3 separate regions of the Homo sapiens genome follow, and all the other regions are linked to region 2. The links are contacts of gene promoters, found by promoter capture Hi-C in blood cells and fetal thymus (Javierre and others, 2016). All regions are on one chromosome and are shown on one strand. The core of a region is centred on a gene start or on the middle of the fragment in contact, and the rest is flanking DNA. Distances in the headings are between cores, read along the strand shown.

What was found. The method cuts DNA at HindIII sites, captures the fragments that hold promoters and counts their contacts. A CHiCAGO score of 5 or more calls a contact.
Region 1: a contact is called between a fragment that was not itself captured here and the fragment with the promoter of LPAR2 in region 2, in 7 of 17 cell types (monocytes, total CD8 T cells, total CD4 T cells and 4 more). The highest score is 7.4, in monocytes.
Region 3: a contact is called between a fragment that was not itself captured here and the fragment with the promoter of LPAR2 in region 2, in 4 of 17 cell types (total B cells, non-activated CD4 T cells, total CD4 T cells and 1 more). The highest score is 7.0, in total B cells.

The regions. Positions count from the first base shown.
Region 1 is chr19:19,770,017-19,774,460 of GRCh38, forward strand. The region is part of intron 1 of LINC00663 (long intergenic non-protein coding RNA 663); the gene reads right to left. Among named protein-coding and RNA genes, the nearest start is that of LINC00663, 4.2 kb to the right of the region's middle. The HindIII fragment of the contact is 452 bases long and covers 1,320-1,771 here.
Region 2 is chr19:19,626,280-19,630,797 of GRCh38, forward strand. LPAR2 (lysophosphatidic acid receptor 2) reads right to left here and starts at 1,941. Exons shown (of 3, transcript NM_001395660.1): 1 at 1,813-1,941; 2 at 264-1,005. The coding sequence starts at 996. It overlaps GMIP (GEM interacting protein), which reads right to left. Exons shown (of 21, transcript NM_016573.4): 20 at 4,192-4,258; 21 at 3,197-4,057. The coding sequence ends at 3,684. RefSeq lists silencers at 1,692-2,191, 2,562-2,691 and an enhancer at 2,329-3,251. The HindIII fragment of the contact is 41,803 bases long and covers 1-4,518 here.
Region 3 is chr19:19,866,825-19,871,840 of GRCh38, forward strand. The region is part of intron 1 of ZNF253 (zinc finger protein 253); the gene reads left to right. It overlaps LOC124904664 (a long non-coding RNA gene), which reads right to left and starts at 3,653. Exons shown (of 4, transcript XR_007067169.1): 1 at 1-3,653. It also overlaps the pseudogene BNIP3P10. The HindIII fragment of the contact is 268 bases long and covers 2,022-2,289 here.

The DNA.
Region 1 (4,444 bases), core at 296-2,795, 140 kb after region 2:
TCCCGGCCATCATCCCGTCTAGGAAGTGAGGAGCGTCTCTGTCTGGCCGCCCATCATCTGGGATGTGGGGAGCACCTCTGCCCTGCCGCCCCATCTGAGATGTGAAGAGTGCCTCTGCCCGGCCGCGACCCCGTCTGGGAACTGAGGAGTGTCTCTGCCCCGCCGCCACCCCATCTGGGAGGTGAGGAGCGTCCCTGCCCGGCCGCCCCGTCTGAGAAGTGAGGAGCCCCTCCGCCCGGCAGCCGCCCCATCTGGGAAGTGGGGGGCAGCTCCCGTCCGGCCAGCCGCCCCGTCCGGGAGGTGTACCCAACAGCTCATTGAGAACGGGCCATGATGACAATGGCGGTTTTGTCGAATAGAAAAGGGGGAAATGTGGGGAAAAGAAAGAGAGATCAGATTGTTATTGTGTTTGTGTAGAAAGAAGTAGACATAGGAGACTCCATTTTGTTCTGTACTAGGAAAAATTCTTCTGCCTTGGGATGCTGTTAATCTATAACCTTACCCCCAACCCCGTGCTCTCTGAAACAGGTGCTGTGTCCACTAAGGGTTAAATGGATTAAGGGCGGTGCAAGTTGTGCTTTGTTAAACAGATGCTTGAAGGCAGCATGCTCTAAGAATCATCACCACTCCCTAATCTCAACTACCCAGGGACACAAACACTGTGGAAGGCGGCAGGGCCCTCTGCCTAGGAAAACCAGAGACCTTTGTTCACTTGTTTATCTGCTGACCTTCCCTCCACTATTGTCCTATGACCCTGCCAAATCCCCCTCTCCGAGAAACACTCAAGAATGATCAATAAATACTAAAAAAAAAAAAAAAAAAAAAAAAAAAAAGCAGAATAAAATCAGAAAAAAAAAGGTAAATTTAAAGTATAAGAAGCTGGGCAAGGCGTGGTGGCTCACTCACGCCTGTAATCCCAGCACTTTGGGAGGCTGGGGTGGGCGAATCACTTGAGGTCAGGAGTTCAAGACCAGCCTGGCCAACATAGTGAAACCCTGGCTCTACTAAAAATACAAAAATTAGCCAGGTGTGGTGGCTGGTGCCTATAATCCCAGCTACTTGGGAGGCTGAGGCAGGAGAATCGCTTGAACTGGGGAGGCAGAAGTTGCAGTGAGCCGAGATCACGCCACTGTACTCCAGCCTGGGCAACAGAGTGAGACTCCATATCAAAAATAAATTTAAAATAAATAAATAAAGTATAAGAAGCTGGAAAAAGATACAAGTAATCAAGGAAAGCATGAGTAGTTACAATAATATCGGATAAAGTAGATTTCAGAGAAAAAAATTGAGACATGGAGAGAAATTACATAATGATAAAAAGCTTAATCCACCCAGAAGACCCAGCAGTCCTAAATGTGTAGGCATAAATCAACAGACATGAAAAATGTGAAACAAAAACTGGAACAAACAGAGGAGAAACAGACAATAAGACAAATACACAATTATCGTTGGAGATATTGACATTTTTCTCTAAACAATAGAACAGAGAAAATTTCAGCAGCAAATCTAAAAAAAAGACAACAGTTCAACACCATCATTCATCAACAGGATCTGGTTGACATTTGTAGAGTAATTTAATCAACAGCAGCAGCATATGCATTCTCTTCAAGGGCTCATGGAACATAAAGTAAGATAGACCATCTCCTAGGCCATGAAACAAACTTCAACAAATTTTAAAAATCAGATTACACGGAGTGTGTTCTCGGATCATAATGGAGTCAGACTAGAAATCAATAATGTGAAGACAATGCAAACATCTCCAACTCTTGCAAGCTTGAAGGGGAAGTCCCTGGGAAAACAAAAAATACATTGACCACAAAGATGATGAAAAGACAATGGATCAAAATTTGTAAGACACAACTAAAGCAGTGTACTGAAGAAACTGATGGCACTAAACTCATATATTAGAAAAGGCTGGTCGGGCGCGGTGGTTCAAGCCTGTAATCCCAGCACTTTGGGAGGCCGAGGCCAGGAGATCCAGACTATCCTGGCTAACACGGTGAAACCCGGTCTCTACTAAAAATACAAAAAAAAAAAAAAAAAAAAAAAAAAAATTAGCCGGGCGTGGCAGCAGGTGCCTGTAGTCCCAGGCTGAGGCAGGAGAATGGCATGAACCCAGGAGGCGGAGCTTGCAGTAAGCCGAGATGGCGCCACTGCACCCCAGCCTGGGCGACAGAGCAAGACTGTCTCAAAAAAAAAGAAGAAAAAAAAGAAAAAAACTAAGTCTCCAGATAATCTAATTTTCCACATCGATAACCTGGGAAAAGGTCAAACTTAATAAACTAAACCCAAACAAAAGAAGTATTAAGAAAGAAATAATAAAGATAGGAAGAGAAATAAAGTTGAGACTCAGAAAGTAATAGAGAAAAACCAATAAAACAGACAGCTGATTTTTTTTGAAAAGATCAATTAAATAGACAAACCTCAAGCAAGACTAAGTGGGGGAAAGGACAAGACACAAATTACCCTGTCAGGAATGAAACAAGGGATATCGGCCAGGCGCGGTGGCTCACGCCTGTAATCCTAGTACTTTGGGAGGCTGAGTCAGGTGGATCACAAGGTCAGGAGTTCGAGACCAGCCTGGCCAATATGGTGAAACCCTGTCTCTACTAAAAATACAAAAAATAAAAATTAGCTGGGCGTGGTGGTGGGTGCCTGTAGTCCCAGCTACTCGGGAGGCTGACGCAGGAGAATTGCTTGAACCCAGGAGGTGGAGATTACAGTGAGCCAAGGTCGGGCCACTGCACTCCAGTCTGGCTACAAAGCGAGACTCCATCTCAAAAAAAAAAAAAAAAAAAAAGAAACAAAGGATATCATTACATACCCTGCAGACATAAAAAGAATAATAAAGTGTATTAGTCGTCTAGGGCTGCCATAAGAAAATACCAGAGTCTGGGTGAGTTAAAATAAATCATCTCACAGTTCTGGAGGCTGGAAGTCTAAGATCAAGGTCCCAGGACAGCTGGTTTCTCCTGAGCCCTCTGCGTATGGCGCCACCTTCCTCTGTATCCTCACATGGCCCTTTTCTTTTTTTCTTTTCTTTTCTTTTTTTTTTGAGATGGAGTCTCACTCTGTCACCGAGGCTGGAGTGCAGTGGCACGATCTCGGCTCACTGCGACCTCCGCCCCCCAAGTTCAAGCGATTCTCCTGCCTCAGCCTCCTGAGTAATTGGGATTACAGGCGCCTGCCACCGCGCCCGGCTAATTTTTTTGTATTTTTAGTAGAGACGGGGTTTCACCATCTTGGCCAGGCTGGTCTTAAACTCCTGACCTCGTGATCCACCCGCCTCAGCCTCCCAAAGTGCTGGGATTACAGCCGTGAGCCACCGCACCCGGCAGGGCTTTTTCTTCTAATTGGCCCGTTCTAGTGTTTCTCTGTCCCTTCTCCTTTATTTTATTTATTTATTCATTTATTTATTTATTGAGACAGAGTCTCGCTCTATCTCCCAGGCTGGAGTGCAGTGGCACAATCTCGGCTCACTGCAACCTCCGCCTCCTGGGTTCAAGTGATTCTCTTGCCTTAGTGACCTGAATACAGGTGTGGGATTACAGGTGTGCGCCACCATGCCCAGCTAATGTTTTATTTTTAGTAGAGCCAGGGTTTTGCCATGTTGGCCAGGCTGGTCTCAAACTCCTGGCCTCAAGTGATCCGCCTGCCTTGGCCTCCCAAAGTGCTGCAATTACAGGCGTGAGCCACAGTGCCTGGCCTCTATCTCTTCTTATCATGATGATAGTCATACTGGATTATGGCCTCACTCTGATGACCTCATTTAACCTCAATTACCTCTTAAAAATCTCCCTCTCCATACCCAGTCCCAATGAGGGTTGGGACTTCAATATGAATAACTCTATACACATAAAATTTAACAGCTTAGATGAAATGATTTAATCACTCAAAACATAAATTATTATAATTACCCAATTAAAAAACTGATATTTTTGAATTGCCCTACACTAGGAAGAAACTGAAATCATAATTTTATTTTTTATTTATTTATTTATTTATTTTTTTTGAGATGAAGTCTCGCTCTTGTACCCCAGGCTGGAGTGCAATGGTGTGATCTCGGCTCACTGCAACCTTTGGAATAATGTTCATGAGCCCAAAGACAAGACAACCTTTGGAATAATGTCCATGAGCCCAAAGACAAAATTCCCAGCTTAATAAATGGCCCAACAGCATCAGAATTAGAAGATTTAGAAGTAACTAGAATTCTTCCTAGCTCCACTGGAAAGGATGAACATGGGGGCTCCCGCAAGATAAGTACAGGGCCAGTGGACAGTGACTGGTCTAGTGAGAATAGAATCCCAAAGATCCTGGGAAATAAAATTACACAACAAGCTTCCAGGAAACAAGTGGAACAAACGAGGCAACCTCGCAGATACTACCAGGAATGGATAAGCAGAAGAGGGTCAGAGCCACAAAATCTAAACAAAAGACACCAAAC
Region 2 (4,518 bases), core at 691-3,190:
CCACTTTCCTCTTTAGAGGCTCTGGCCTCGTACTGCCTTGAGGTTTTTACTTTCCGTTTCCTCTGCCTGGAAGGCTCTCTGTTCCTATCCTCAGCATTCAGGCCTCTGCTCACATACATTATCACCTCCTTGGAGGACATTCCCCACCTAAATCATCCCCCATCACCCTCTATCAGGTAGCTTGTTTTGTTCATTGCTTCGCAGTGTCTTGTGGGAGATAGGGGGAAGCAGGGTCCCTGTTGCCCCCTGGGGGCCCCACTTACCCAGGATGATGACAACAGTCTTGACCAGGCTGAGCGTGGTCTCTCGGTAGCGGGGGTGGCAGCTGACATGCTCTGCCATGCGCTGCACTCGCCGCCGCACGTAGAAGAAAATGCGGGTGTACACAGCCACCATGAGCAGGAAGACAAGCAGGCTCGACAGAGCCCAGACGGCCAAATAGGAGCGGCTGAGCAGGGGTGCCATGCGTGAGCAGCGGTCCAGGGCACAGAGGCAGTGCCAGGAGTGGGCAGGCAGCAGCCCCAGGCCCAGGGCAGCCACCCACACGCCCACAATGAGCATGACCACGCGGCCACGGGGCAGGCGGCTGTGCAGCTGCACGGCCATCACACTGCGGTGCCGCTCCACGGCGATGGCCAGCAGTGTGGCCACCGACGCAGTGAGGCTTGTGTCCAGCAAGCCCTGCCGCAGGAACCAGCCCTCAAGTGAAAGTCGGGCTGTGCGGGGACCAGTGTGGAACATGAGGAAGAGGTAGGCCACGCCCGCGAAGAGGTCAGCCGCGGCCAGATTGCCGAGCAGGTAGTAGATGGGCTGGTGGAAGCGGCGGTTGGAGGCGATGGCTGCTATGACCAGCAGATTGGTCAGCAGCACCAGCACGCTGACGGTCAGCCCCAGTGCCACCACGACCACATCCTTGGGCCGCCAGTGGGAGCTGAGCTCTTTGCCACTGTTGTTATAGAAGAAGCCGATGGTCTCGTTGTAGTAGCACTGGCCCATGATGACCATCTGGGGACACAAGAGATCAGTGCATGTGGCACTTCTTGGAAGGACACAGGGAGGGGCGGCAGCTGCAGAGGAGGGTCAGCGCAGGAAGGACAAGGGTCTCAAATTCAGATACCTCGAAGCAAAGTGGCAGTGGTGAGGACTACGGTGGCCTGGAAAAAGCAAGCTCCATGGGGCTGGGGTGGAGGTGGAGGAGCAGCTGTTTCTTACCTACTAATAAGACCTGTGTGCAAGACATCACCCAAGTCAATAGGTTTTTGAACCAGAAGTGAAACAAAACCCATCTATGGTCGAATCCCAGCCCACCTGCCGCCAATGTGTGACCCGGTTTGGGTTGTGGGGAGAGGAGGGTTAGGGAAAGACAAAGGGGTGTGAGCTGCGGGAAGAGATGAGGGAGGATCACTTTGGTGCCGGAGTCAGTGTAGGGAGCAGAGACCCGGGAGCGTGTGCACACAAGGGTGAGGTCACTTGCTAGAACCCTGCGAGGGGGCGGTGCCGAGGCGTGGAGGTGATCGGAGTGGACAGAGAGGCGGCCCCAGAAGTTAGTCGGCGGGATTTGGGCGCGAGTGCTTCCCAAGCGGGCGGGGCAATAGGCTGTTCCGGGTGGGACGGAGGACACTGGCGGTCTCCGGGACAAAGACAGCGGTTGGGGAAGGGATGGATGGCCGGGCCTCCAGGCGTCTCCAGACTGGGGAAGGGGTAGGGGGTTAAGGGATCAGAGGGCGGCGTCCTGGCCCCGCAGGCACGTGCCGCGCCCTTCCCCCGGGCCCAGGCCCGCACCCGCCCGCCTCCCGTCCGTGCAGGCCTCACCTGGGCCTCCAGTCACGCCGCAGACAAGGCGGGCTCGCGGGGGTTCGGGGCGGGCTCGAGGCCCATGGCCCGGCGACTGCGGCGGGAGCGGTAGAGCGTCCGGGTGCGCCCTGTGCGGGTTGCTGAGAGGGCGCGGGAGGCGGGGTCTCCCCGGCGCCCCGCCCCCACCACCTGGGGGAGCCCTGCCCCGCCCCGCCACCTGGGGGAGCCCCGCCTCCACGGCCGCGTCGGGGGCGGTGTCGCCCGGAACCGCAGCCCCCCTGTTTCCTCCCCGCCTCGCGGCCCCTCAGTCGCCCCTATTTCCGGCGCGGGACCCCCACCCCGGTACCTGCACACCTCATGCGCCCGCAGTTTCGAGCCTGCGGGGCTGAGTCACTCGGCGACCCGAAAATTCCCGCCGTGACCCCGCGCTGCCCGGGCGGAGCTCCAGGTGGTCTTGGGTCCGCGCCCCCGCTCCGGACCCCCAACCCTCCCAGCCCCACCCCGCTCTCTTCTTCGTGTCCAATCGGCCGCCGAGTTACAAGCCACTCCCTGATCCGACTTGGCTCCCACCGCCCGGACCCCCGCCCAGCTTCGGCTTTGCCAGCTCGCAGTATCAGCGAGCCGCGGCCTCCTGTGCGAGGCCCACCTCTGCGGCCCCAGCTGATCATCGGGCGCACGCTAGGGTTTTGCAATCCCGCCCCCGTACCCCTCACCCTGGGACAGCGCTGCCCCCTGCAAAGCCCGGCCCTGCCCTGCCCTGCCCTGTGGCTTCCTCCCTCGGCCTCCCTGCGGCGGCCCCGGGCTCCCACGGTCCGGAGCACACAGCCCCATTGTCCCGGTTATCGGTACTTTGTTATACTGTATTTGATTATGCAGGACCGGATCGGGGACGCAGAGCTCCGGGAGGGCCGGGCTGGCGTGACTCAGCCGGGTGCTGCGACCCAGCTCCAACTGCCTTTACGTAGGTGCTGCAGGGTGTTTGATGATGCAAGAAGGAGGCCTTGAGGCCGGGCGCAGTGGCTCACGCCTGTAATCCCTGCATTTTGGGAGGCCGATGCGGGACGATCACGAGATCAGGAGATCGAGACCATCCTGGCCAACATGCTGAAACCCCGTCTCTACTAAAAATACAAAAAAATTAGCCGGGCATGGTGGCAGGCGCCTGTAGTCCCAGCTACTCGGGAGGCTGAGGCAGGAGAATCGCTTGAACCCGGGAGGTGGAGGTTGCAGTGAGCGGAGATCGTGCCACTGCACTCCAACCTGGAGACAGAGCAAAACTCCGTCTCAAAAAAAAAAAAAAAAAAAAAAAAAAAAGAGGCCTTGATTCCCCTAATCTGTAAAATGGGGGCAAGGAGTGCTACCCATGCTGGCCTCTCCCCTAGCAGAGATGCACCCAAGGGCATATAGGACACAGTTTATTAGAGGCCATCAGACCTCAGGCACCACCAGCATGTGGAGTCTGAGCTGCCCACCTCCTCCAGGAAGGTCACTTCGAGTCCGTGAAGGAGGCAGGCAGGTGTGGGGGAGTGACCACAACCAAAGTAGCAAAAGCACCCCTGTCCCAGGTGTCAGAGACTAGGGTGGACCCCAAGGATCTCATAACCTGCACTGACCCTGAGTATTGACCCTGAGTGACCTCTGAGCCCGAGTGGCCCTGATGCTTGGCAGTGACCTGTGTCTAGTGGGGGGACTCTGGGACATTATCCCCAAAAGGGTTTTAGGCCTCCCCTAGGTCATGTATTAAATAGTTTTTCCTTATAGGAACCCTCTGGACCTCTCCCAGCATTGAACTCCTGGCGGGGTGTTTGGCCACTAGGTGGTGGGAGGTAGGGATATATGGGTCCGTCTTCACAATCTGGGCCTCTTCCTTATTTAAGGTGCCAGGGTGGTCAGAGATGGTCCTCGGCTTCCTCAGGCTGGACGTCCGGGCAGCAGGTGGCCCTGGGCACAGCCTCGCTGTCCAATTTCGAGAGTAGCCGGGCTGTCTCCTGGGTAATCTCAAAATGCTTGGGCAGCGGGGTGCGGCGCAGGGGGCTGCCCTCAGGGGAGGCAGCTGCAGGGCTGGGCCCCCGCCCCCGCAAACTCCCTCTGGGCACTGATGTGATGGGGGTCTCCTCGCACAGCTTGGAAGCCACCAGGGCCAGACTGGACAGCTGGTGGGTTACAGGCCTCACACCGCCCCGGGGATACTTCACTGGCTGGCGGCTGAAGTGGCCACGAGACTGTGTCCCCAGGAGTGAGTCCTCTGGGCCTTGGCTGGACACTGTGTACGGGGTGGGTGGTCAGTGCAGAGCACCTCCAAGTTCTCTGTATATCCCCCCAGGAGTCATCTTTTAGCAAGCCACCCTGGGGCCAGGGCACCCCCAGAACTCCTGAGCCTCTCTCTAACATACTCACCTTCCCCTCCCCCATCTTTGGTGTCTTCAGCCACGTCCTCTCTCTGGTCACTCTGTGGAGTTGGAATCTGCAGGGAGAAACCCAAGAATGAGACCCCAACACTAAAATCCCAGTTCTTTGAGATTCCTGGAGAGCCAAGGGCTTGTTCCTGGACATGCAAAAGGAATAGCCAGTGCAAAGGCCCTGAGGTAGGAGCATGCCTGGTATGTTAGGACGCAGCCCCACCCTGTAATGAATGAGGGAAAGGTGGTAGGAAGTGAGACCAAAGAGGAGTGGGCCCAGGTGGCTCTGCCAGCCACCCCTGACTTTGCACCTACTCTGCACTGG
Region 3 (5,016 bases), core at 906-3,405, 240 kb after region 2:
TCTGACCTCACAATCTAGGCTGACCCGATTGGCTACTTTCCAAATAAGGAAGGGGTTCGGGTCGCAGATTGGAACAGGCGGTTTGGGTTGTTTACGGAGCGGGTGTCTAGGTACAAAGAGGTACAAAAAAGTTGGTCCTAAGAACAAGGAACAAGAAAGTTAGGCCCTTGAAGAGGAATCTATTATATCTGTCAGGGTTCACAGTTTCCCTTTTCTCCTATTAAAAATTTATGGGGCCGGGCGCGGTGGCTCACGCCTGTAATAACAACACTTCAGGAGGTCGAGGTGGATGGATCACTTGAGGTCAGGAGTTGAAGACCAGCCTGGCCAAAATGGGGAAACCCCATCTCTACTAAAAGTACAAAAATTAGCTGGGTGTGATGGCGAATGTCTGGTTTTCTGTTTCTGCATTAGTTTTCTGAAATAATGGTCTACAGCTTTATTGATGTTATTGCAAAGGACATGATCATTTATTTTTAAATGGCCAGAGAGTATTCCATGATATTTATGTACCATATTTTGTTTTTACTAAATCTTTTATTTTATTTTATTTTTGGAGACAGAGTGTCACTTATTGCCCAGGCTAGAGTGCTGTGGAGTGATGCAGCCTTATTTAGCCTCAACCTCCCTGGCTCAAGCAATTCTCTCCTACCTCATCCTTTCACGTAGCTTGATCTACACGCTGGTGTTACCACGCCTGGCCAATTTTTCTCTTTGTATTTTCTGTGGAGACAGGATTTTGCAATGTTGCCCAGGTTGGTCTTAAACTTCTAAGCTCAGGCAATCCACCTGCCTCAGCCTCCCAGAGTGCTGGGATTACAGGCATGAGCCACCGCATCTGACCATACCGTGTTTTCTTTATCCAGTCTACCACTGATAGGGCCTGTCCATGTCTTTGCTATTGTGAATAGTGCTGCAATGAACATACATATGAATGTATCTTTATAATACAATAATTTATATTTCTTTGGGTATATACCCAATTATGAGGTAGAGTATAAGCATTCCCTTTTCTCTGCAACCTTGCCAGCATCTGTTATTTTTTGACTTTTTAAAAATAGCCATTCTGACTGGTGTGATGTGGTATCTCATTGTGGTTTCTCTTAATTTCTCTAATGATTAGTGATGAGCTTTTTTTTTTTCATATGCTTGCTAGCCACATGTATATGTTCTTTTGAAAAGCATCTATTCATGTTTTTTTGGCCTATTTTTTAATGAGATTTTTTTTTTCTTGTAAACTTGTTTAAGTTCTTAATAAATTCTGGATATTAGACTTTTGTCAGAGGCAAAGTTTGCAAATTTTTTTTATTCTGTAGGTTGTCTGTTTACTCTGTTAATAGTTTCCTTTGCTGTGAAGAAGCTCTTTAGTTCAAATAGGTCCCATTGTCAATTTTTGCTTTTGTTGCAATTGCTTTTGGTAGCTTCATCATGAAGTGTTTGCCAGTTTCTGTGTCTAGAATGGTACTTCCTAGGTTATCTTGCAAGGTTTCTTACAATTTTAAGTTTTTCATTTAAGTCTTTAATTAATCTTGAGTTGATTTTGTATATTGTGTAATGAAGGGGTCCACTTTCAGTCTTCTACATAGTGCTAGCTAGTTATTCCAGCACCATTTATTAAATGGAGAATTCTTTCCACATTTCTCTTATCAGCTTTGCCAAAAATCTGATGATGGTAGGAGGGTGGCATTATTTCTGGGCTCTCTATTCTGTTGCATTGGTCTTGTGCACTCATGAACTTTTTTTTATAATATCTTTCTCTCTTCTGCTTTTTCCCCCATAAGCATTTTTTCAAGTGCATACAGTGTGTAAAATTCTGATGTCCAAGAGTTCAAAAACTCTTTAAAAAGTTCCAAAAAAGGGGATTGGGGGGCTAGGGGAGGGACAGCATTAGGAGAAATACCTAGTGTAAATAATGGTTTGATGGGTGCAGCAAACCTTCATGGCACGTGTATACCTATGTAACAAACCTGCACGTTATGCACATGTACCCCAGAACTTTAAAGTATAATAAATAAATAAAAAGCTTAAAAAATATTTTGATATTCTCTCTTTTCTTAAGGAATTTAGGTTATATGTAGATGCTTTTCTCTGCTTTTTTTGAAATACATGTAAATCATATGAACAGCTAAATAAACCCTTTGTCATTTTCTCGGGTCCAGATTATCTTTATGTAGTACTTCAGAATTATTGCTTTATTTTTGCTTCTGAAAAGTTTATTTTTTTCATTTTTAGTCCTTTAAATTAGACACAGATTTGTTTAGATAAAAGCTCATTTTAAGAGCACACAGAAGCTTAGCAGAAAGATAGGATTAAATTTAGCAATGCAGAATGCTAAAGACTAAAAGGTATTAAGTTTCTTTTACAGAAACCTGATTATCCAAGGTAATTATCCAATATTTGCAGGCTGAAGTACTTATACTGCAAAAGCAAGAACAGTGCATAAACAGTGGAGTCTGTAGTTGTATCTTGCTTTCTATTTATTACTTCAGAACAATTAGGATAGTTATGTGTAGGGTTTGTAGGCAAACTGCATTAATATAAATTAAACATTTTTTTTTTCGAGGTGTTTTGCTCTTGTTGTCCAGGATGGTGTGCAATGGTTTGATCTCGGCTCAGGCAAACTCTGCCTCCCAGGTTCAAGCAATTTTCCTGTCTCAGCTCCCAGTAGCTGGGATTACAGGCATGCACCACCAGGCCCAGCTCATTTTGTATTTTTAATAGAGATGCGGTTTTTCCATGTTGATCAGGCTGGTCTTGAACTCCTGACCTCAGGTGATCTGCCTGCCTCAGCCTCCCGAAGTGATGGGATTACAGGCATGAGCCACCATGCCTGGCCTTTTTTTTTTTTTTTTTTTTTTTTTTTAAAAAACAGTCTTACTCTGTTGCCCAGGCTGGAGTGCAGTGGTGTAATCTTGGCTCACTGCAATCACTGCCTTCTGGTTTCAAGTAATTCTCCTGCCTCAGCCTCCCGAGTGGCTGGGAATACAGGCATGCACCACCATGTCCGGCTACTTTTTTGTATTTTTAGTAGAGACAGGATTTCACCATGTTGGTCAGACTGGTCTCGAACTCCTGACCTCAGGTGATGCACCTGCTTCAGCCTCCAAAAGTGCTGGTATTACCGGTGTGAGCCAAAAACAATATTTTCTACAATAGTATGAACATAAAGCCACAATACTTACTTTGAATGATTCACTTAAATGGTTATTTTAATATTGTTATTTATACTTTTGAAATATAAAGTGTTTTAACTGAAGTATAGTTGCAGTTTTTAAAAATACTACATACATTGCCGAGTGCAGTGGCTCACACCTGTAATTCCAACACTTTGAGAGGCTGAGGCAGGTTAATTACCTGAGGTCAGGAGTTCGACACCAGCCTGACATGGTGTAACCCCATCTCTACTAAAAATAAAAAATTAGCTGGGTGTGGTGGCACGCGCCTGTAATCCCAGCTACTTGGCAGGCTGAGGCAGGAGAATCGCTTGTTCCTGGGAGGCAGAAGTTGCAGTGAGCTGAGATTGCACCATTTCACTCCAGCCTGGGTGACAGAATGAGATTGTGTCTCAAAAAAAAAAAAAAAAGCTACATATATTATGACCTGTTCATTAAAATTATTCATAGTTAGATATTTATATCTAATGTCCAAAGAAAATTTACTACCAAATTGTTAGAGTAGATATTAGTCTGACATGTTTATTACTTTACTCAATAGGAATAATTATGAGTAAACACAATTTTATTATCTTTTATTTCACTAAGTTGGAATGCTGCTATTACAGGAAAAATAAAGACAGGTGATGTGGCCACCCAAACACCATAATAGCTATTCAGTTAGCTGTGTTGCAAGTTGTAACATATTCCACTATATGAACACAGTCAAATTCTATTTCTTCATCTTAAAGTGTTGTTGGAAGTTGTCAGATGTATTTCAATATAGAACCCCCATTCAGTGGCTAGGAGATGAGAGAGCAGCAGAGATGGAAAAGAAACTTTATAAAATTCTTCTGAAAATCTGCCCTCTTTCTTCGTAATGCTCATGTTTCTCATGATGAGAGCAGCTGTGTACTTTGGGTGGTTAGAGAGAAATTGCTTTTAGGGGAACATTTTCTGGCTCATTTGATCAATCTGATATCTAACCTGAGCTTTTTTAAAAGATCTTTTTTACATTTTTCTCTCAAAATAATCTGGCTCAGATGGAGATCTGTTTTTCTCTCCAATGCTTTGGATGTCTGTTTCAGAAGCCCTATTACTATCCTATGGTGTCCAAATGAGGTGGACTCTCACAGTGAGAACTTTTGGAGCTATCTCTATCTGGACTCATGCTGGAAATTCAGCAGTATTTTTTCCTTGTCACCATTACAAGTAGAAACTGAGGCTGAAACACTGCTCACATTCCCATGATTGTGAAGGTGCAATTCTACCCATGAGGCCTGCAGGCTCTCCTCCTGCAGCTCAGGCCTCACTCTGATGTGACACTGGAGTGCTGCTGTGGCAAATGGGGTTCATATAAAATGTGAGCTGTGCTCTGAACTGTGCCTCAGTGGCAGATGGTAGAGGTCAAGAGAGGAAGGACACTAGCATTCAGGAGAAAGCAAGCAGGAGTGCTGTAGCCCAGTGCCAGGGAGTACAGAGCCACTGCTTTAAAATGTAAATAGCCAAAAAGATAGAATGCTACTCAGCCATTTTTGTAGCAGAGTGAAATCCTGCCTTCAGCAGACACCTGGCTTCAAGCTGCTAAACTACATCCTGTTATGAAGATGTGAAAAGTTTGTCATTGAATATAAGCAATTAACATACACAGATGGCCTCTTCAATCTCCAGGTGAATTTAGGATGAACTATGTATGACATGGTGCTGGAAATTCTTCTAATTGTAGACTAATTATGGTGACCATCTTTCTGTCTTTGGAGCCTCTTAAGCAGATTGACGATGATGCATATCACATTCAAGTTCAATTGTGTAATAAAACCATTTTCTTTCTTTTGTCTTATTGTGAAGATTTTCTGGGGCTGGA